Linked DNA regions of Homo sapiens: all the other regions are linked to region 5. Evidence: promoter capture Hi-C in 16 types of primary human blood cells and fetal thymus (Javierre and others, 2016). All regions are on one chromosome and are shown on one strand. Each heading gives the region's core, a stretch centred on a gene start or on the middle of the fragment in contact. The rest is flanking DNA. Distances are from core to core; before and after follow the strand shown. Region 1 overlaps VAPA (VAMP associated protein A). Region 2 has its middle 200 kb from the start of VAPA. Region 3 overlaps LOC124904247 (a long non-coding RNA gene). Region 4 has its middle 230 kb from the start of VAPA. Region 5 holds the start of APCDD1 (APC down-regulated 1). Region 6 has its middle 170 kb from the start of VAPA. Region 7 has its middle 77 kb from the start of VAPA.

The links. Contacts are between HindIII fragments. The CHiCAGO score rates a contact against its expected background, and 5 or more counts as called.
Region 1: a fragment that was not itself captured here is called in contact with the fragment with the promoter of APCDD1 in region 5 in 1 of 17 cell types (monocytes); the score reaches 5.7 in monocytes.
Region 2: a contact is called between a fragment that was not itself captured here and the fragment with the promoter of APCDD1 in region 5, in 3 of 17 cell types (M2 macrophages, M0 macrophages and monocytes). The highest score is 7.3, in M2 macrophages.
Region 3: a contact is called between a fragment that was not itself captured here and the fragment with the promoter of APCDD1 in region 5, in 2 of 17 cell types (M1 macrophages and monocytes). The highest score is 6.2, in M1 macrophages.
Region 4: a contact is called between a fragment that was not itself captured here and the fragment with the promoter of APCDD1 in region 5, in 4 of 17 cell types (M2 macrophages, monocytes, M0 macrophages and 1 more). The highest score is 5.8, in M2 macrophages.
Region 6: a fragment that was not itself captured here is called in contact with the fragment with the promoter of APCDD1 in region 5 in 1 of 17 cell types (M2 macrophages); the score reaches 6.0 in M2 macrophages.
Region 7: a fragment that was not itself captured here is called in contact with the fragment with the promoter of APCDD1 in region 5 in 9 of 17 cell types (M2 macrophages, naive B cells, monocytes and 6 more); the score reaches 10.8 in M2 macrophages.

What each region holds. Positions count from the first base shown.
Region 1 is chr18:9,952,806-9,955,505 of GRCh38, forward strand. VAPA (VAMP associated protein A) reads left to right here. Exons shown (of 6, transcript NM_194434.3): 6 at 1,248-2,700. The coding sequence ends at 1,406. Among named protein-coding and RNA genes, the nearest start is that of VAPA, 40 kb to the left of the region's middle. The HindIII fragment of the contact is 9,151 bases long and covers 1-2,700 here.
Region 2 is chr18:10,114,920-10,117,619 of GRCh38, forward strand. No RefSeq gene overlaps it. Among named protein-coding and RNA genes, the nearest start is that of VAPA, 200 kb to the left of the region's middle. The HindIII fragment of the contact is 2,110 bases long and covers 247-2,356 here.
Region 3 is chr18:10,160,222-10,162,921 of GRCh38, forward strand. It overlaps LOC124904247 (a long non-coding RNA gene), which reads left to right. Exons shown (of 2, transcript XR_007066286.1): 2 at 1,167-2,700. Among named protein-coding and RNA genes, the nearest start is that of VAPA, 250 kb to the left of the region's middle. The HindIII fragment of the contact is 924 bases long and covers 986-1,909 here.
Region 4 is chr18:10,138,356-10,141,250 of GRCh38, forward strand. No RefSeq gene overlaps it. Among named protein-coding and RNA genes, the nearest start is that of VAPA, 230 kb to the left of the region's middle. RefSeq lists an enhancer at 2,129-2,628. The HindIII fragment of the contact is 2,267 bases long and covers 446-2,712 here.
Region 5 is chr18:10,453,263-10,456,000 of GRCh38, forward strand. It overlaps APCDD1 (APC down-regulated 1), which reads left to right and starts at 1,373. Exons shown (of 5, transcript NM_153000.5): 1 at 1,373-1,777. The coding sequence starts at 1,720. The HindIII fragment of the contact is 7,093 bases long and covers 1-2,738 here.
Region 6 is chr18:10,082,460-10,085,191 of GRCh38, forward strand. No RefSeq gene overlaps it. Among named protein-coding and RNA genes, the nearest start is that of VAPA, 170 kb to the left of the region's middle. The HindIII fragment of the contact is 3,764 bases long and covers 1-2,732 here.
Region 7 is chr18:9,990,157-9,992,856 of GRCh38, forward strand. No RefSeq gene overlaps it. Among named protein-coding and RNA genes, the nearest start is that of VAPA, 77 kb to the left of the region's middle. The HindIII fragment of the contact is 3,525 bases long and covers 1-2,700 here.

The DNA.
Region 1 (2,700 bases), core at 148-2,647, 500 kb before region 5:
GTATTAAAAGTTCTGTAGATGTTTGTGATGTGTAGCTGAAACTGAGAATTACTGTTTATATAGGACTAATTAGCATGAGACCAAAAAAACCCAACTCCAGAAAATCCAGTAATGCAAATAAAACTGTGCCATTAGGTGTACTCTTTTAGTTAGTGTTTATTTATAAGCACAATAAAGGAATCATGGGAGAAAATATTGCCTTGTACTGAAAAAAGTAAAAAACTGTCCTGCCATTTATCAGATTGGTTAACAGACAGAGATAAAGACAACTGTGTAGTTAACAGGTATTAGTATTTTTCCCAAGGTTCACATTGCACACAGTGTCATAACAACCTCCTGCTTGGAGTGACTTCTGCTTTCTTCTGAGAAACCTTCTGCTCTAAAGACATAGTGCTGTGTGAAGCCATATCAGCAAGAATGAAGCAGCCTACTCTTGACTGGAGGATCTAAGTCATTTTGACACAGAGAAGCACCCTCATTTTCCAGTCCAGGTGCAGAGCTTCAGATAAGGGTTTCCTATGTACATTTCTCATCTAAATTTGTAGTTTCTGAAGAAACAGTATTCTTTCTCTGCTTTGCAGTCGAGACCTGGTGCTACCACTTTACACACAGCCCTCTGCTTTGCTTTGAGCATATAAAAACACTGTTACTTAAATTTCACGCTAAACTGTTTCCTTCCCCCAAATTCTGTGATACCATATCTCTGTTTACGGCAAGAACACCCTTTTGTGCCTCTGCTGTTCCGGTTCCTTAGTTGCAGTGTGTCAGTAAACCCAAATGGCAGACTACAGGTCTGGGTAGTTTTTGGCTGATTGGGCTAGGACGGATGTAACTGATTTTAAATACCATGGGCCACCTTGGAAGTACTCTTCTTTAATTATATTTTTAGTGGGATTTAAAAAAAGGTAAATATAGCCTATCTAACTTTTGCTTTTTAGGAATACATTTCTCAGCTCCAGTTTTAAAAAATCAGTGTTATTGAGGTATAATTTATATCCCATGGAGACACCCACTGTGAGTGTACAATTCATTGATACATAGAACTTTGTAACCATCACTATAGTTCAGTTTTAGAATGTCTATCACCCCCGGAAAGTTTCCTTATGTGGTTAGCAGTTAATCCCCTTTTCCGTCCCCAGCCATAGGCAACCACTAATCTACTTTCCGTCCCTATAGATTTTTAGCTCCAGTAGTCTCGTTAGTATGCTTGTTTTTAAAAACCTTTTGTGTGTGTGTTTTTTTTCTAGGATGAAGGTTTAAGGCTCAGAAAGGTAGCACATTCGGATAAACCTGGATCAACCTCAACTGCATCCTTCAGAGATAATGTCACCAGTCCTCTTCCTTCACTTCTTGTTGTAATTGCAGCCATTTTCATTGGATTCTTTCTAGGGAAATTCATCTTGTAGAGTGAAGCATGCAGAGTGCTGTTTCTTTTTTTTTTTTTCTCTTGACCAGAAAAAGATTTGTTTACCTACCATTTCATTGGTAGTATGGCCCACGGTGACCATTTTTTTGTGTGTACAGCGTCATATAGGCTTTGCCTTTAATGATCTCTTACGGTTAGAAAACACAATAAAAACAAACTGTTCGGCTACTGGACAGGTTGTATATTACCAGATCATCACTAGCAGATGTCAGTTGCACATTGAGTCCTTTATGAAATTCATAAATAAAGAATTGTTCTTTCTTTGTGGTTTTAATAAGAGTTCAAGAATTGTTCAGAGTCTTGTAAATGTTATTTTAATAATCCCTTTAAATTTTATCTGTTGCTGTTACCTCTTGAAATATGATTTATTTAGATTGCTAATCCCACTCATTCAGGAAATGCCAAGAGGTATTCCTTGGGGAAATGGTGCCTCTTACAGTGTAAATTTTTCCTCCTTTACCTTTGCTAATATCATGGCAGAATTTTTCTTATCCCTTGTGAGGCAGTTGTTGACTGAGTTTTTCATCCTTACAATCCTGTCCCATGGTATTTAACATAAAAAAAAATAAAACTGTTAACAGATTCTTGCTCGATAGCTTGTTTGTGTCTGTCGTGTTATTAGAGGGAACTCCACTATATATGGTCACTTGAAATTATGATGCAAAGGTTTCTCTTGCATTGAAACCCTCTTGGATATTACAGTATTTTTAATTGAAAGTCCTAATTCTGTTAAGGAAAGGAGTTGATTAAATTTTAAGGTACCACTGGTATTTTGGGAGATTATAATCAGTTTGTTTTCAAGATAATAGAAAATAAGGTCCATGAGAATAGAAGTTATGTGATTTCAGTGAGTTGATGTGTACAGCATGGCTGTGCTCCATCTGATTTACCCCATTCTTAAGTTCTGAGAGTATGTTCTCAAGGAAGATTTAACTCTCTTTGGTTTTAAATTACTTTTTAACCAGCCTAATAAATAAGTCTTACTACTTTTCATAATATTTCATAATAGTTAAAAGTAGGTGTTTTTTTCGTGCTCAATTTGGCACTCAAAATAATGTTCATTATGGAAGTTTGGTAATACTGAGCAAGCCTGTGGAATTTTCTTTATGAAAAATGATTTTAGCCTTTGCAAATGTTAACCATGTGAAACACATTTTCAGTATAAGTATGCGTTACAGGGTTTGATACTTTCCTGCACTTAGGTTTGTCCTATTCTTCATTTATTCATACTAGGATAGAAAATTTTGGAATCAGAAAATAGATCCAGTGTTTAG
Region 2 (2,700 bases), core at 52-2,551, 340 kb before region 5:
CTCTGCTTTGTGATTCTTTCTCTCACTCCTATTGCAGCCTGATTACAGGTTAGGCTTCCGCAGACTGCTCTGGCCAGCCAGGGGCTGGAAGATGGGGAGTGGCAGGAGGGGTAGTGGATCACGTTTATTACAGGCCCAGGGGTATTGGGATATTTCTTTCCTTCGGTTAATCTTCTGCAGCTTTGTTAGCAGCTTAGGGAACTGTAGGATGCTTTTCATCACCACATTGGCTTCCCACAACTGGCAAGCTTTCTAGGTGGGGAACTGTCAGAAACGTGGAATTCACCAGCATGATTTCCTGAAGGAGTATGAATGGTAGCTGTAAATATTGATTGATTGTTAGTTTACAGTGTCAAAATGAGTTGTCACATGCTTCCACAACCCCACCATGGTGCCTTCCATCAAACAGATAGTTTATGTTTTTAATCATCAGAACTAATCTGTTAATATAAACAGAAGACAGCAGATTTTTTCAATAAAAATAGAATAAAAGGGATAACTGATTGTTTTAGAAATAATGGTTTTAATGAATCTAACTAGAAATAAGTAGGTATACATATTTAAAAAAGAACCGACATAGTTTACATACATTAGGAAGAGTTGTATGATAGTACACACAAAAAAGCAGAAAGAGCTGGGGCCAGCTCCATACATACAAAGGAGCCTAAGCAAATTATAGACAACCCCTCAAATTATAAACATGGGGTTATTAACACTCTACACATTTCTAGAACTTAGACCATGAGATCAATGTTCTGGGTGGGTCAGAATTGTGTTCAATTTTTTGGTGCCTCAATTTTAGGGAGACATGAAATCAAGAGCACCAAGAAAAGACAAGATGATGAGGGGGTCTTAAAACCATCTCAATTAAGGAATAGCTAACGGGTTTTATCTGGAGAAGACCGGGGGAATATGAGATGTTGGCCTTCAAAGAGTTAAAATACTCTTGCAGAAAAGGGAGTAGATTGCTTTCCCGGGAGAATGGCTAATATTTCAGGAGAAGAAAATTCCTTTCAATGTAAGAAATATCTGTCTCAGACTACAGCTTTCCAACTTTGGAGTGGAAGTTGCTGTTAGGTAGTGAGCTCCTGTGCACTGGACACTTTATGAATGTAGGGGTGCTGGGGAAGAATTATTCACATATTAAAAGGGAGTTCAGATAAAATTATATGAAAGCCCCTTTCTTTGAAGCCAGGTGTGGGCTGGCTGCCCGGGCCTTCCCTTCTACCTTCTACCTTTTGCTAGAAGATTCCCAGCAAACCTGCTCCTCTTGTTCATAGTATTATCATGAAGATTAGAAGAGTGTTAAAGACTAAATTTTAAAAGACAGTAAAATCATGACTCTCACACAATCATAAAATGAACATGTGCCAAGGATTTTATTTAACTCGATTAATGAGGAAGTCACTCGATATTACAACTGGCTCAAAAGAGAACTCAAGATCCACACATCTATAGTCAGATAAAGAAGGACTGCTCAACATGGTGAAACCTTGTCTCTGCTAAAAATACAAAAATTAGCCAGGCATGGTGGTGGGCACCTGTAATCCCAGCTTCTCGGGAAGCTGAGGCAGGAGAATTGCTTGAACCCAGGAGGCGGAGGTTGCAGTGAGTGGAGATGGCGCCACTGCACTCCAGCCTGGGTGACAGAGCGAGATTCCATCCCAGAAAAAGAAAAAAAAAAAAAAAAAAAGGAGGACGAAATGAACTTACACATCTTACATATGCAATGGAGGCAAAATTGGTCAGTTTCTACAGTGTGATAGTCAGTTGCATTCCACTGGACACAATTTGCATTTCTACAGACAGGAGTAAGTTGCATCACTCCCAGTTTGCTACAAGTTAACTTTCACCTCTACAGAGTTGTAAAACACTCTAGTCAAAGTGGAGGAGCATACCCCTGAGGCATCTCTAGGATTCCATTGAAAAGACCGCCAGTGATCTTTTTTGTCCAGTTCGAAACTGTCCACATTTTTCCCTACATGAAGTAACCTCTCACATAGAGGTTTTCCCCAAAGTTCCTGACAAATGATGTGTGCTCAGTAAACATGATTTATTGTTGATCATCGTTGTGATTCTTACCCAAGTGTCCTGGGGAAGATGCCGGTGGCTGATATGAGGTATTCTTTGACCAAGGTCAGGATCACCATTTTTTCTCTTTCCTTTGGAAATATTATACACACATCAGGCTACCTGCTTTTTCCTATCTTTCATCTCCCACAGACAAATGCATTTAATGTTAAAAAAATCTTTGTTTCTAACGTGCATATAAAATCCTCCTTTTTCTTGTTCTCTTCCAATTCTCTTTCAGTTTCTTATTGTAGGAAAATGTCTCTATGCTTCAAATTTCTAGTTAAGCTTAAGAAAAATTCTAGTGATCTTCCTTTCTTAAGGAAAGAACAATTGTAAGTTTTAACTAAATTTATAAATGATGAAGTTTAGATTCGGTCATTTCAGCAAACAAAAGCTAAATAACCATTGTTTTGAGTTACTGAATACTCAAACATTGACACAGGAATAATACAAGTTGAAAAAATATATTTTAACTTACATTAGATATATAAATGCAAGTTAAATATTCACACAGGTATGCCTTGCCATTCTTATATGAGCCCTGTTGTCCATGGTTCTGAGTTACTTTTGGATTTGGGGGCAGTGTTGTTTCTCGTAACCATGGTCCACAGGTGACCCGTGTCCAGC
Region 3 (2,700 bases), core at 198-2,697, 290 kb before region 5:
CCTGCCTTGGCCTCCCAAAGTGCTAGGATTACAGGCGTGAGCCACCGTGCTGGGCCCTGTTAAAATATTACTTATCTCTCTATGCGAGTGCTTTTTCAGCTTCGAGAGAAAAAGAAAACCCTTGTGGAATTTAGAACACACTTTGTTCTTGAAGTGTAGGGTTGTGTGACTCCACCCTTGCCTGGCACGGCCTTCGGTCCTCTTTGGAATGTGGTATCTCATTGCCACAAAGGGTCCCTTGTGTCTGTCTTATGATCTTGACTTTAACATTCATGCTGGTCAGTTGTTGTGTCTAAACCACTAGAGGGAAGGGTATAATGAGACGCGTCTGACCTCCCGTCCTGTCATGGCCGGGAACTTAGTTTTAAGGTTTTTCCAGGGTCCCCAGGCAAAGAGGGGTCCATTCAGGTGATGGGGGAGCTTAGGAATTTATTTTTAGTTTACATACCTAAACTTGAAAAAGGAAACTTTTAAGAGGAAATACAAATGAAAATTAAACTCCCCCCATACAAATGGTCTACCACAGACCATTACTCCTGGGTCAGAGAGCTGAAAACTCACTTTGAAAGGGTTTATAAACTGATAAAACAGAGGTGAAAAGTACAGTTATAAAATGATCACGGGGCTAGCCTGCTGCCGACCTGCTGGGGTCCTGTCTAGAACACCAAAAGCCTGCATGGCAGTGATCAGCTGACTGAGGAGTGAGTCCCTGAGAAATGCTTCTGGGGAGCCTTGGGCCTGTGCTCCCCTCTTTCTGCCAGCTGCTTTCCCATGTGAACTGATAGAGATTTTCAAATCACTTGGTTCTGTTCTCTTTTCTTCCCAGTGCCCAGAGTAGTGGGTAGCTCACCCCCCAGTGGGTCTACCCCAGCAACAACCCCAGTGGCCACCCATCGTTGCTAGTCTGGAGCTTGCGGTGACCCTCATCCTGGTGCGGTTCTGAGGTCCTTGGGGAGGGGGGAGTCCCCTGGGGGAAATGCCTAGAAGCTTCCTACAAAGGTCTGGAATGGTCGGTGCAGCAAGGGAGGAGAGGGCTACTGGAAAACTCACAGGGCCTTAATTCAATTTTGAATCCTATAAATCACACAACACTTGTGATTTTTAAACACTATATTTTGTTACACTTTTACTTATTAAATTATCTATTGATATATTTTTCCTCAAAGCCTCTGAGAAGACTTTGCACAAGCTGCTGAGGACACTAAGGCTGGAGACATGGGACATGGATGCCCTGTGATCAATTAAGTTGGTTAACGTCACCAGCGTAGATGATGTCAACGCTTCACCCTCTGGAGGCCCCAGAAAGCAGCTTTCCTTCACACGCCGCCGGACTGTCCACTGATGGAGGCGGATGGATGCTCTTGGCCGCATTTCTCGGCACTCAGGTTGTGACTGTCCCAGGCTTCCTGTTAAATGCATTCCTGGTCCGAATAGCTTCACCCACGTGCTCAGGGCAGCGGGTGGAGTGCCATCTCCACATTTTTCTGTAGGAAACCCTCCAAGGAGGTGCTGCCTCCTCCTTCGGGCAGTGAAAACTCCTCAGCAAACTGGGACATAGGTGCCAGATGTTCATCAGGACTACCCTGGAAAGAAGTCCAGGCCATCCAGATCAGGGAGGCTGGGTCTGAAGCTGGGTCTGCCAAGGCCTGGTTTCTGTCCAAGCCTCACTAGGGGAGGGACTTATGGTGCAAACTCCCCATTCCCTCTGGTGTGTGCGTTGCAGCCGTGATGCTGTTTGCCTCAACTTATGGGTCTTCTCTGGGCCCAGATTGAACCTTCCTATCTGTTTCCACTAGCTTTGTATGCCATATGGCATTTTACAGCCCCATACTATGTAGGTAACAGAAACAACAGCACTTGCAAACTACATATATTTCAAAAAACAACTAGGTCTTTTGATTAAATTATAAGCTTTAATTATATTCTAACTAATTAGAACATGTTTAACATAGACCTCTCCCATACCTGAAAAACTGAATGAAAAGAAACTTACAAATGAACCCTCTGTAGGATTACCATTAGGTTAAAAAGATAACTAAAAAATATACTATTTTAGGCCAAGTGTGATGGCTCACACCTGTAATCCCAGTGCTTTGGAAGGCTGAGGCAGGAAGACTGCTTGAGGCCAGGAATTTGAGACCGGCCTGGACAAGACAGTGAGACTCTGTTTCTAAAAAATAAAAATAAAAAAATTAGTTGAGCATGGGGAAGGGTACCTGTTGTTCTAGATACTCTGGAGACTGAGTCCGGAGGATCACTTGAGCCCAGTAGTGCAAGGTTGCAGTAAGCTATCATGGTTAACACTGCACTCCAGCCTGAGTGAAAGAGTGAGACGCTGTCTCTAAAATAAACACTATTTTAAAATTGCAACATTCTCTTAGTCCCTTCATCGTTTCATGGTTTTCCCTCTAGCAATTATATCATCTTCTGACCTTCATATTCCCTATAGGCAAGTTTTTCTAAACTTTTCCTTTATATGCTGTGTAAGGCCTGTTCCTCTTTCCCTACAACAGTGACCTGGAGTAGGCAACTACTTTTATCCTTTTTAAAAGACTGATTCAAGCCATTCTTGTATTTCTGCATCAACTGCAACATTTTAACAACCTATTCAGGTTTCTCCTACTGCTGAACTCAATTTGCCAGTATTTTGAGTCTTCTGCATAGTTTCATAAATGAAATTGGACTGTAATTTTTTGCATT
Region 4 (2,895 bases), core at 329-2,828, 310 kb before region 5:
AGGGTCCCTTCTAGGGTGAAGGTCCTGTGGATAGATACACTATGAATACTGACAATGGGGAAGAAATGAAAAGTGAAAAATTGTGGAGCAGAAAGCGTTGCTAGATCCAAGGAAAAGCAGGAGATCATGTAGTCAGACTCCTCTCAGTTTCCAGTCTCCCTGGAAGGGATCCTCCTCCTCCTCTGGGAGGAAGGAAGGGGAGAGAAAACTCCACTGGGGATTCCGGGCTGGCCGGGAGGCATGTGGTTAGCTTTCTCTCCTTGTAGAATCAATGAGTTTAAGAATCGGTGGGATTTTGTAGGAATTTGTCTTGTAAGGTTACAGTGTATTAAAAACTCTTGGAAACTGAAGTCCCGTCCCTTAGAAATAGTAGTCATATGGTAGAAAAATCTGGAAAATAGTAATGACTCAATAAATGTGTTTTTCTTTTCTCCTTTCTTGTCCAAGCTTCATAACTAATGCCTATCTCTTCTGACTAAAGAGAACTGCTTCTCTTCTTTTCTGTTCAGATATAAACAAGTGCTATTTTATACATCCAACATTCACTTTATGCGCCCATATATTTACCATTCACGATCTCTGGCATTTCATCTAAGAAAGCCTGTTAGGATTTCACTTAGTATGAGTCAGCTTGCAACTTGCATATGTTAGCTTCCATTGATACAGAAATGTCTTTCTTTAACTTTCTATGTATTTATTTTTTGAGACAGAGTCTCGCTATGGTTGCCCAGGTGGGAGTGAGGTGGTGTCATCTCAGCTCATTGCAACCTCCACCTCCCAGGTTCAAGTGATTCTCCTGCCTCGGGAGGCTGCCTCAGCCTCCCAAGTAGCTGGGATGACAGTTGCAAGCCACCAGGCCTGGCTAATTTTTGTATTTTTAGTAGAGACAGCGTTTTACCATGTTGCCCAGGCTGGTCTTGAACTCCTGACCTTAGGTGATCCACCTACCTTGGCCTCCCAAAGTGTTGGAATTACAGGTGTGAACCACCGCACCCGGCCTCTTTCTTTAACTTTCATTCTTGAAGCATGTTTTCCCCATGCACAGTGTGTTACTAGGTTGGCAGCTGATTTTCTTCTGTCCTTTGTAGATACATACCATTGCATTGTTTGCTGCCTTCTGTTTTTTTTTTTTTTTTTTTTTTTGGTTTTTGGGGTTTTTTTGTGTGGAACATTAGCTGTCAATCTATTGCTCACTTGAAGGTACTTGAATTTTTTTTCTCTGGCTGCTTTTAAGATTTTCTTTTTGTCTTTTTTTTTTTTTTTGCAGTTTTATGATGATATGTCTAGGTGTGCATTTCTTTATATTTATCTTTCCTGGGGCTTATAGAACTTCTTGATACTGTAGATAAATAATTAAACAATTAATCATTCTTTTGCTTAACAGATATTTACTGAGCGCATACCCCAGATCTTGGAGTCTAGTGGTGGGAGAAGACAGGAAATAGTTGATCTCAGCATGAACGATCAATGTGGCCCTGGTGGCAAGTGCATGTGCTTTGGGAGCACATCCTGTTGGGGTTGCTGTTGAAACCAAGTCCTGAAGGACAAGTAGAGGATCAGCAGGCAAAGCGTGTGAGAAGGCTGGAGAGAGTGTTTCCATATGTGGGTCTCCATCTGTAAAGCTCCAGGAGATGAGGGCATGAAGGGCATGTGGAACTGCAAGGAGGCCAGTGTGTCTGAAACATGGTGCAGGACAGCGGGATCTGTGGAGGACAGGGCCAGAGATAAAGCCCGTTTTTCCAGGGCCCATCTCCAGCCGCTGCATTTCTTTCGAGCTTTAGACAGACTATCTGCTTCCCATATGACATTTTTTCCAGGATGATTCAAGCCACTTCAAACTCAACTTGTCTGGAGCTGACTCATCCTTCTCAAATCTCAGCCTCCTCCAGAATCCCCGCCCCTGACTCAGTTGCACTCCTAGAAAACTGGACAGTGTTCCCTGCAGGCCTGGCAGCCCTGCAAGGAGGGAATGACTTGAGAAGAGTTTTTGCTTCAGAAAGCTCACCCTTGACTGCAGTGTGGAGCAAGGATTGGAGGGATGAACTGGAAGCAGGGGCCCCTGCGAGGGGAATGTTACTCTAGTGCAGGTGGAGAGGATACGGGCCCATCCACACTGGCAGCAGCAGAGTGGTGGGAGAGTGGAAAGGGGTGAGCAGCAGAAAGGAAGTCGACTTGGTGAGATTTGGTGACTGATGGGAGGGGAGGCAGACTGTGGGTTTGAAGCACTGGGCCAATGGCAGACTCATGTAGGAGTGAGAGGGGCCCTAGGACGGCAGTTGGTCAGGGTGGCTTTGGGCTTGTTGAACTGAAGTGGTGCCCAGGAGGAAGCTGAGCTGCAGCTCTTAGTTTCAGGCGAAAAATCAGCCCTGCAGACACAGGGCCGGGATTTGTTACCCAATCTGTTGTAAAGTGCTTCCTTCACAGTATGCCTTTGCTCTGAATAACTCTAACCCCACAGACTTACTCAAGTGTCACTTTACAAACTCTGACACAGTGAAAAAAAAGTCTCTCTTTTTTTCTCCTACCCCCATTTTCATGCAGGAAATAACAACAAAGACCCAGGTCAGAGATGAGTCTTTGTAGAGCTTCCCAAAGTGATTTGAGGCTGGGAGGCTATAGTCAGTGGAATATAGAATTTGTGCAAAAGCTGGAGAAGGCTGACAGTGGCGGTCAGGGAAATCTAAATTGGCCCCAGCTGACAACCTCATCCCAAGCTTGGTGGGGCCCCACCCCCTGCTGAGAGAGCCACCCATTCAGGCCCCTGGGCTTTGTAAATAGTTTCTGTTTAGTTTTCAGCTCACAAGAAGCAAGCACATAAAAGAGTTAGTCATCGGGCCGATTCAGCAGGGCACACATTAGCTAGATATTGACCTGGGCTCCTTTCACACCAGGTGA
Region 5 (2,738 bases), core at 123-2,622:
GTCAAATGTATTCTCATCTATTTTACTATTATACCGTTGCTAAGATCCAACTACTTTTGAAAGTCTAACACATAAGGAGTTGAATTATTGCATTGTTCAAAGGGGCAGAGAATTCTCTTGGGAAATCAGGCATTTATTTTAATCTTTTTTTTAAATGAAAAACACTAACGGTTGCGTCAAGAAATGTTCTCTAGACTCCACTGGGTCTCCTGTCTGCTCTTTATCCTAGTGTGGAGAAGAGGTGACATTAACCTTAGGAGGGGGAAAACTGCTGGAAGAGGGGAAGGGCTCAAGCAGGCCCTTGGCAGAGGAGGGACCTTCCAGGTAAATCAGATGGCCACTGCCTTGTACCCGCATTGGAGAACGAAGGACCCCAGGGGAAACTCTTCCTGCCTTTGGGTCTCAAACGCCCATGTAGTCCCCCCTCCCCCACAAGACCGCGAACACAAATAAAATCAGCTTTGATTGTGGTGATTCAATTTGCTCTGGAAGAGAAGAGGACTCGGCGAAGGGGCCTAAGTGCACGTTCTTAGACTGACAGGGAGCGTTTCTCGGAGATTTCTCCCGTTTCAACAAGTCATTTGCCTAGTGGAAGGGGGAGGAAAAAGTGAACGGGCTCCTGCCTCCTACACCGTGCCCTTCCCAGGTTGGGGCCTATGACAAGGTTCTCCGTGCTCCCCAGAGGAGCCAGGCACTGGGCCGGGGTAGGCGATTTGTAGTGAAGACCTGCACCGCACCCACGAGGGGGCCCAGCACTGACGCATCCTCACCCCCAGCAACCCTCCAGGACTCTCTCTTTGGTCTCCCCTCTCTCCCATGGCTGCGCGCTGGCACACACCCCGGCTCAGCAGGCCGCTTTGCTTGGATCCCACGCCAGGCCTCCAGCCTCGCCGCCCGCACCCCCTTTGAACACCTTTCCCCAGGGGAGTGGGCGGAGGCGGAAGGGTGACCCGCGCATTCTCTTTCCTTGCGGGCGGGGTGCGGGGCCAAAGGCTCCCACCCCCTCCAAGGAGGAAGCGCGCCCGGAATGGGGGACGGGGAGGAGAGAAAGGGGTGCGCAGAGCCAGAGGGAGGCAGAGGGGCCTGGAGGGAGGAGAGGAGGAGGGGAGGATGGAAGGGGTAGGAAGCTGGAAGAGGAGGGGTAGGCGAGAGAGGGGAAGGAGGGAAGCGGGAGGGGAGCGGGGGGAGGAGGGGCGCCCGGAGTGGGAGGAGGGGAGGCGTTGCCCGACGCGCCCTTTCAAGTCTCCGCGCTCCCCCCCGGCGGCGGCTGCCCGGGGGCGGTGGCTCGGCGTCGCCTCCCCCGACCGCCCCCTCCAGGGCCCCTCCTCCGTGCCGCGGCCAGGCTGCCCGGCCGGCGGCGCGCTGGAAATATGAAGAGACGCTGCAGCTGCGGTGGCGGTGGCGGCCACTGCAGCTCAGAGCGGCGCACGCGGCGGCCGGGGCGGGACGCGGGGCCGGGCGCGGAGAAGTCGGGGCGGGCGGCAGAGAGGCCGGGACGCGGACCGGGCCGGGGCGCCCACAGCCGCCCGACGGCGCCCAGAGAGCGCGCGCCCCGCAGCCCCGCGCCTAGCCCGCCGGGCATGGGGCGCGCGGCAGCCGCCTGAAGCCCCGGCCTGGCCCGGCCGCACCCGGCCGGAGGCGGAGGGCAGAGCGCGCGCCCAGTTGCCCGGGCACCAAATCGGAGCGCGGCGTGCGGGAGGCCCCAGAGCAGGACTGGAAATGTCCTGGCCGCGCCGCCTCCTGCTCAGATACCTGTTCCCGGCCCTCCTGCTTCACGGTGAGTTCCCGAGGGCCACTCGAGCGCTCCCAGCCGGCGGAGGCAGCCCGGGCGCCGCGGAGCCCGCGGAGGCGTCGGGTCTGGATCGCGGCACGGCCTACACTGTCCCCTTGGCGGGGCGGGTCCGAGGGGAGCCCCGCGCCTGCCGTCTCAGCCCTGGGAGAGGGGGCTCTGCCCACTTTCCGAGGCTTGGGACCGCTCTCCCCCAGGGCGCCCGGAGCTCTTTGCTGCGGGACTGTTCTTTTTGGAAGGGTGGAAGCTCTCCCACGCAGACACCTTTTATGTCCAGAATCCGTTGCATCCAGTCCGAGGGAAACTTTCGTCCGCTCTGCTGGATTTTCCAACTGTACACTGCCATGAAATCGCCGGCTCTGCGAGCCTTTTTCCAAAATGCCAGAATGCAGCAGGCTCTTGATGTGTTCCAAGCGTTTAGGAGAGTGGAAAGAGAAACTGATCATTTGGGAAAGACACGTCTGTCTGCCTTCTGAAAACTAGTGTTTGTTGTCTGCCTGCACTTTGCCTCGCGATTGAGGCGGGGTTGTGGGGTTTTCTCCCAAGTGGACTGTTGCGTTCTCTGGGTGTAATTTTAAGAAACAGGGGACCCCTATTAGCCAAGATTTAATCATTATTACCAGTCTCCCAATGTGCACCCCAACTTGACGTCCCATTTCCTGGGCTTCCAGTGCCACTTTTCCCCAGGGGTTCTAGTAAACCTTTAGCTAGAGAACATCAGCCCTTTCAGCGGGTTCCAGAAATTGCGCTGAAAACACCAAGACAGAATTTCTTTGGGGTGGACAAGGCAGGTTTTATGGCGCGTCGGGTTCATAATCCTGACAAGCCGTGGCAGATCACGTCGTGTTGATGTGGATGTCCTGAGCAAACTGTCCCTAATGGTCAGACACCTGACGTTTCAACAGCATGACTTCACGGCTCTCCTTCCTCAACACCCACCACAGCCACC
Region 6 (2,732 bases), core at 5-2,504, 370 kb before region 5:
TGTCCTCTGTCTGTGGCGGGAGCCTTGTCTTTCAGAGTAGGCACAGTGATGTCTAGCTGTCACCATGGTCACAGTTTCATCCAGGCATGGGCTGGCTGGGAAGGAGACAGAAGCATGCATGCACCACCACCGAATAGTAGAAGACAAAGTGATTGCTTTCTTGAGCTGTTTTGAGAGTGGTTTGATTTTCAACTCACTGATGAGCTGGTTTGCAAAATGCTGAGAGCAGGGGAGACAGACAGAGAGCAGAGAGAGCACAGGTTAGGGTGATGGCTCCAAAGGCTGTGGGAGAGTGGGATTGTTACTGAAACACCAGGGGTTTGGTCTAGGTCCTGTTGCTTGCCACACAGAAAGCCAATCACTGAGACAAGTATTGCCGGGGAAGGCAGCTTTATTCAGATGGTACAGTCAAGGAGATGGGAGATCAGTCTCAAATCCATCTCCTAAACTGACTAAAATTAAGAGTTTACATAGCGGGGAAGAAACGTAACTACTTATGGGAAAACAGGAATTAGGGAGGGGTAAGGAAGAGGAGTTAGTCAACAGGCAGCAGGTGGTGGGTTATGCAATCATGATGGGTGAGGGGTCTGGTGTCTCATTGTCCTGATGCTGTGATCTGGAAAGTTTCAGTTCCTTGAAACTATCTGTGAGCGCTGATGGTTGCTTTCCTGAGAAAGGAACTCAGATAAGACAAATGTAACTTTCTAGTTTTAAAACTAGAAGGACCAATTTCTATGCTTATTCAAAAGAAACCATAAACATCAGTTCTATGGAACAACTGGGCTGGTTTCAGGATTAGGGGATGGGGCCCTGTGGGTGCTCCCTGGAGGGGTGAGGTCATCAGGTGAGGGAGGCTGCTGGCACAGACCTATGCTGTGTGTGTACTCCAGCACCCACCCTCTCAGGACATCCTGAGCCCAGGCATGGCTACAGCTGCTCCTCCCAACGGGGGTGGGACCCTCTCCTAACTCTGGCTGGGGGTCAGGCAGGTGGACTGATGCCCTCGGAATGGGACATGGCTGCAGAGGAAGCACATTTTCCCTTTCAGTTCAGAGCTATCCGAATGGAGAGTTCTTCAGGGATGTCACAGTCCTGGTAAACTCTGAGGCAGGACTCTAAAGACCCCAATATTTTGCTTAGTATCCTCAGTGTAGCTGAGCCCTGATTGGTTAATACAACTGAGCCCTGATTGGTTGATACAGCTGAGCCCTGATTGGCCAAGGCAGCTGAGCTCTTGGCCAATGATTGGTTGGTTCAGGTGAGCTCTGGTGTCCCAAAGTTGAACAGAGGTGTTGGTTTTGGGGACCTCCAGAGTATGTGTGTGACTCCTCATCAGCAAATAGCTGCATGTCTCTATTTTATATTTAGGCCCAGTCAGCCACTTTGGATCCACCTTCAAGGACTGGCTCTTTCAGGTTCACATTTGTTAGCACCATTTTAAAAATTGGTTCACAAGCTCAGTGTAAGGGGTCAACCCATGGCAGCCACTAACCTTTTTACTGTATCCATAGATTTGCCTTTTTCAGAATGTCATATCATTGGAATCATATAGCATGTAACCTTTTCAGATTGGCTTATTTCACTTACCAATATGCATTTAAGTTTCCTCCACATCTTTTCATGGCTTGATAGGGCATTTCTTTCTAGTGCTGAATAATATTCCATTATCTGGCTGTACTACAGTTTATTTATCCATTCACCTACTGAAGGACATCTTGTTTGCTTCCAAGTTGTGGCAATAATGAATAAAGCTGCTCTAAACATCTGCGTACAAGTTTCTGTGTGAACATATGTTTTCAACTGTTTTGGGTAAATACCAAGGTGCACATTGCTGGATCGTATGGTAAGACTGTTTAGTTTCATAAGAAAGCACCAAGCTGTCTTCCAAAGTGGCTATACCCTTTTGCATTCCCACCAGCAATGGAAGACAGTTCTTGTTGCTCCACATCCTTGTCAGCATTTGGTGTTGTCGTGTTCTAGACGTTGACCATTCTAATAGGTGTGCAGTGGGATCTCACTGCTGTGTTAATTTGCATTTCCTGATGACATGTGATGTGGAGGATGTGCTTATTTGCCATCTGCATCTCTTCTTTCATGAGGTGTCTCTTCTTGAATGTTTTTAACTCCGGAAAGAAAATTAGTACACCATGAAATTCTTTTCTTTTTCTCCAAAACAAAAAACGACCAAAGTAAAAAAAAAAAAAAAAAAACAAGCAGACCAAAACATGACACTCCTTTAGCCCAGCTCATTATACTCACTCCTAAATACAGAACAGAATATCTGGGAAGGGCTGGGTAGGAGAGGTACCTGGGGGCCTGTGAACGTTGTTTTGCCCCTTTCCTGTGAAACTAAATCTCTCCCAGAGCCCATAGGGAATGAGGAGAGGGGAAGAAAGTTCTGATTTTGGCTTTTTGCATGGGAGCTGGACAAAATCCTGCCAAGGGCCACTTCATCTAAGGATGCTTCTTAAAGGAGAATTTGGTTCTAGGACTAGTGGCCACTAGGAACAGGTTGATAAGGCACAGGAATAGAATGGTCAGATATGGATTATCTCACAGTCATTGAGGACTTACTACATGCTCAGCATGTTGGTAAATGCTTCTCATTGGATTCTCACTGCAACCCCCACATAGTAGGCACTGTTATTTCTCTCTTTCTTGCCACGTGGGCTGGTACATGTTGAATTTAGATGGAGCGGAGCCTGGTATTTGGCCTTGCTTACAGTCTCCTG
Region 7 (2,700 bases), core at 116-2,615, 460 kb before region 5:
CAATAAGTCAACTGTGTCTGGCCCCCTAAGTTCCTGCAGCTGCTCCTCCCTGTCTGGGGTGGTTGTGTTTCCTTTTATATTGTCCATTTCAGGACTCCTTTCAGTCAGCTGTTTAATTTCACCTCAGGTGGTCTCTTTTTCTTCAAAATGGAATTGGTTCTAGGGTAATGCGTGGAGGAGTCCTTGCCACCGTGGAGGGGCTGCCCTGCAGGGGCACTCGGCCTATCTGAACAGAAGTTTATTCATTCTTCCTCGGAGGCGGCACGCGGGCCTTCCTGAAGTGCTCATTCATCTCCAGGGAAGGTGGGTGAGAAGGGCACGGTCAGACCAGCCTCATTTTATGTCTTCTCAGTTTGTAGGCTGTGCATCCCTCAAACATCCTGAGATCCTAGGAAGTCATGTAGCCAATCAGCCTGTTGTCACTCAGTTTCTTCAAATACGGAATACCATCAGGCTCATGGGTTGGGAGAAATATATGTCCAAAGCCCCAATAAGCACTTTAAAAAAGCAAGAGCTCCTGAGTGCCTTCCTGCAGGATGGACCCTGGAGGTGCTGAAGGGTAAGCTGAGGCTGATGGCTGGGGAGTGTTTGGGGTGGTGTTGGTGGGGGTCAGCCTGGGGGCGCTGCCTTCCCCACCAGCCATTGTCTGTCCAGGGCTGCCCTGAACAGGCATGCTTCCTGGTAGGAGCTCCACAAATACACAGAACTGCAGAACAAATGATTCAAATAATGAAATCTATCAAGTTTGTACGTGAGTTTAACCAGCGCCCAGACCGGGGCGGCCTCCCAGTTGCACTCCCTGAGTGCCCGTCTGCCCCCTGGATAGTGTCTTACCTTCCTCACCGCCTAGTCCCTGGCTTCCCAGAGGATGGGAGGACAGCTCCTTCACTGGAAGGTATGCCTTCCTTTAAGTGATGTAGATATTTCTAGACTCTTCTCAGATCTTTGGTTCTCCCTGCTCCCTTCTCACACACACAGGGAAAGCAGAACCTACTGGGGGGAACTCGGAACTTTCAGGGCCAGCATTCACGTGTCTAGCCTGCCTTCCTTCCTCCCCAGCCTCTTCCTCATCCCAGGTTCCTGGCGATCCCGGCCGCTCCCCTCTCGCCTCCACAGAGACTGCTCTGAGTCTACTTCTTCTCCGCCTATGTCTCTCCGCCCTTTCTATGCGCTCCTTCCCATCCGCATTCAAACGTTCTCAGGTGTCTTTCATAGGTTCAAAAAGAGAATTCCCCTGACCTGTGTTTCCACATCGCCTCTCCTCTTTATGGCCACCACGTGGCGTTTTGTCCCCTCCTCCTCTCCTCTCCCTTATTCACAGATTCTGTTACCCCCAACACAGCTCTCAGCAAGGCCACTGAGGACCTCCTTGTGGCTCTGGGACCAATGACTCCTAGCGGCACGTGACGCTGCTGACCTTGTTCTGGAAACATTTTCTCAGCCTTGATGCTGCTGTGGATCCTTTTCTGGTTTCTCCTCCCACTGGAGGTGCCTCTGCATCACCTTTGCCAGGCTTCTTCGGCTCTGCCGGAGCTTCTTTGGTCCCGGCTTCTCTTCCCTTCTCAGCCTCTCTGCCCCGTGATCGGTGGGATCTCTTCCCAGGGCTTGGAACCCCGCTATGTCCTCTGACAACTCAGGTCTAAGTGTCCTACCGGTTGTCTCCCTGAGCGCCGCACACCTGCGGCTCCCCCTGGATGTGCGTGGATGCCTCAGACTCAGCAGGTCCACAGTGGGGCTCCAGCTTCTCACACCTATGCTCCTTTCTGTTTCTGTCTGAGGTGAACGGGACCATTCTCTACCCAGTGGCCCTATCCAGAACTTGGAGGGTCTCCCTTGACTTTCCCAGATTTCTTACCCCGCATTTTGACACCATCCAATGAATCATGAAGTCCTGTGAATTCTCCCAAATGCATCCTGTCTGTCCCCGTATCCCTTCCCCACTGAGATCCCCACATCCAGGCCACTGCCAGTTCTCATCCAGTCGCCACACCTGCTCCTAGGTCTTTCTGTCTTGAAATTACTATTTTTTTTCAATCCATTATCCAGACTAAAGCTGGAGCGATCTTTTCAAAATGCACATATAAGTCACCTCCTGATCAAGATTTCCAATAGATTCTATGTATTTGGGATGAAGTCTGAACTTCTTAACTTAGGTGAATCTTCATGTCCTGGACCCTACCTCCTTCTACTCCCATCTCCTGTCCTGCTCATCTGTGGCAGGTTTTTACCTTCCTCAAAAAATAAAATGTGGGGCCATCTAAGTCTCCTCTGTGTGACTTGGCTAGCCACACACACAACGACCGCCCTAGTCGCTGGGGTTTTTGAGCTGAGTTTTTGGCAGCTCCCAGTGGTAGTCTGGGAATGTCACCATCCTCTTGGAAAGTCCGTGGTGAGTTCTTTACAGCTGGCAGGACCTCTGAGGTGTCACCCTGAGGCTTAGCAGTCTTCTCATCATCTTCACTCCCTAACTAAGAAAGAGGGAGTGGAAGAGGGTGGTGAATCCTTCAATATTTAAAAGCACCAAACACAACAAAATTTATGTGGACCTCGTCATTATTACTATTCTGACTTAATGAACTTTATCCTCTCCTTTTTTGGCTGGAAAAACATAAAAGTCCCAATGAAAGGAAACGGATGTAGTTGCTTTGAGCATTTCCAAAGGAAACTGCAGTAAAATGTGAACCATCGCCCTGTGAAAGC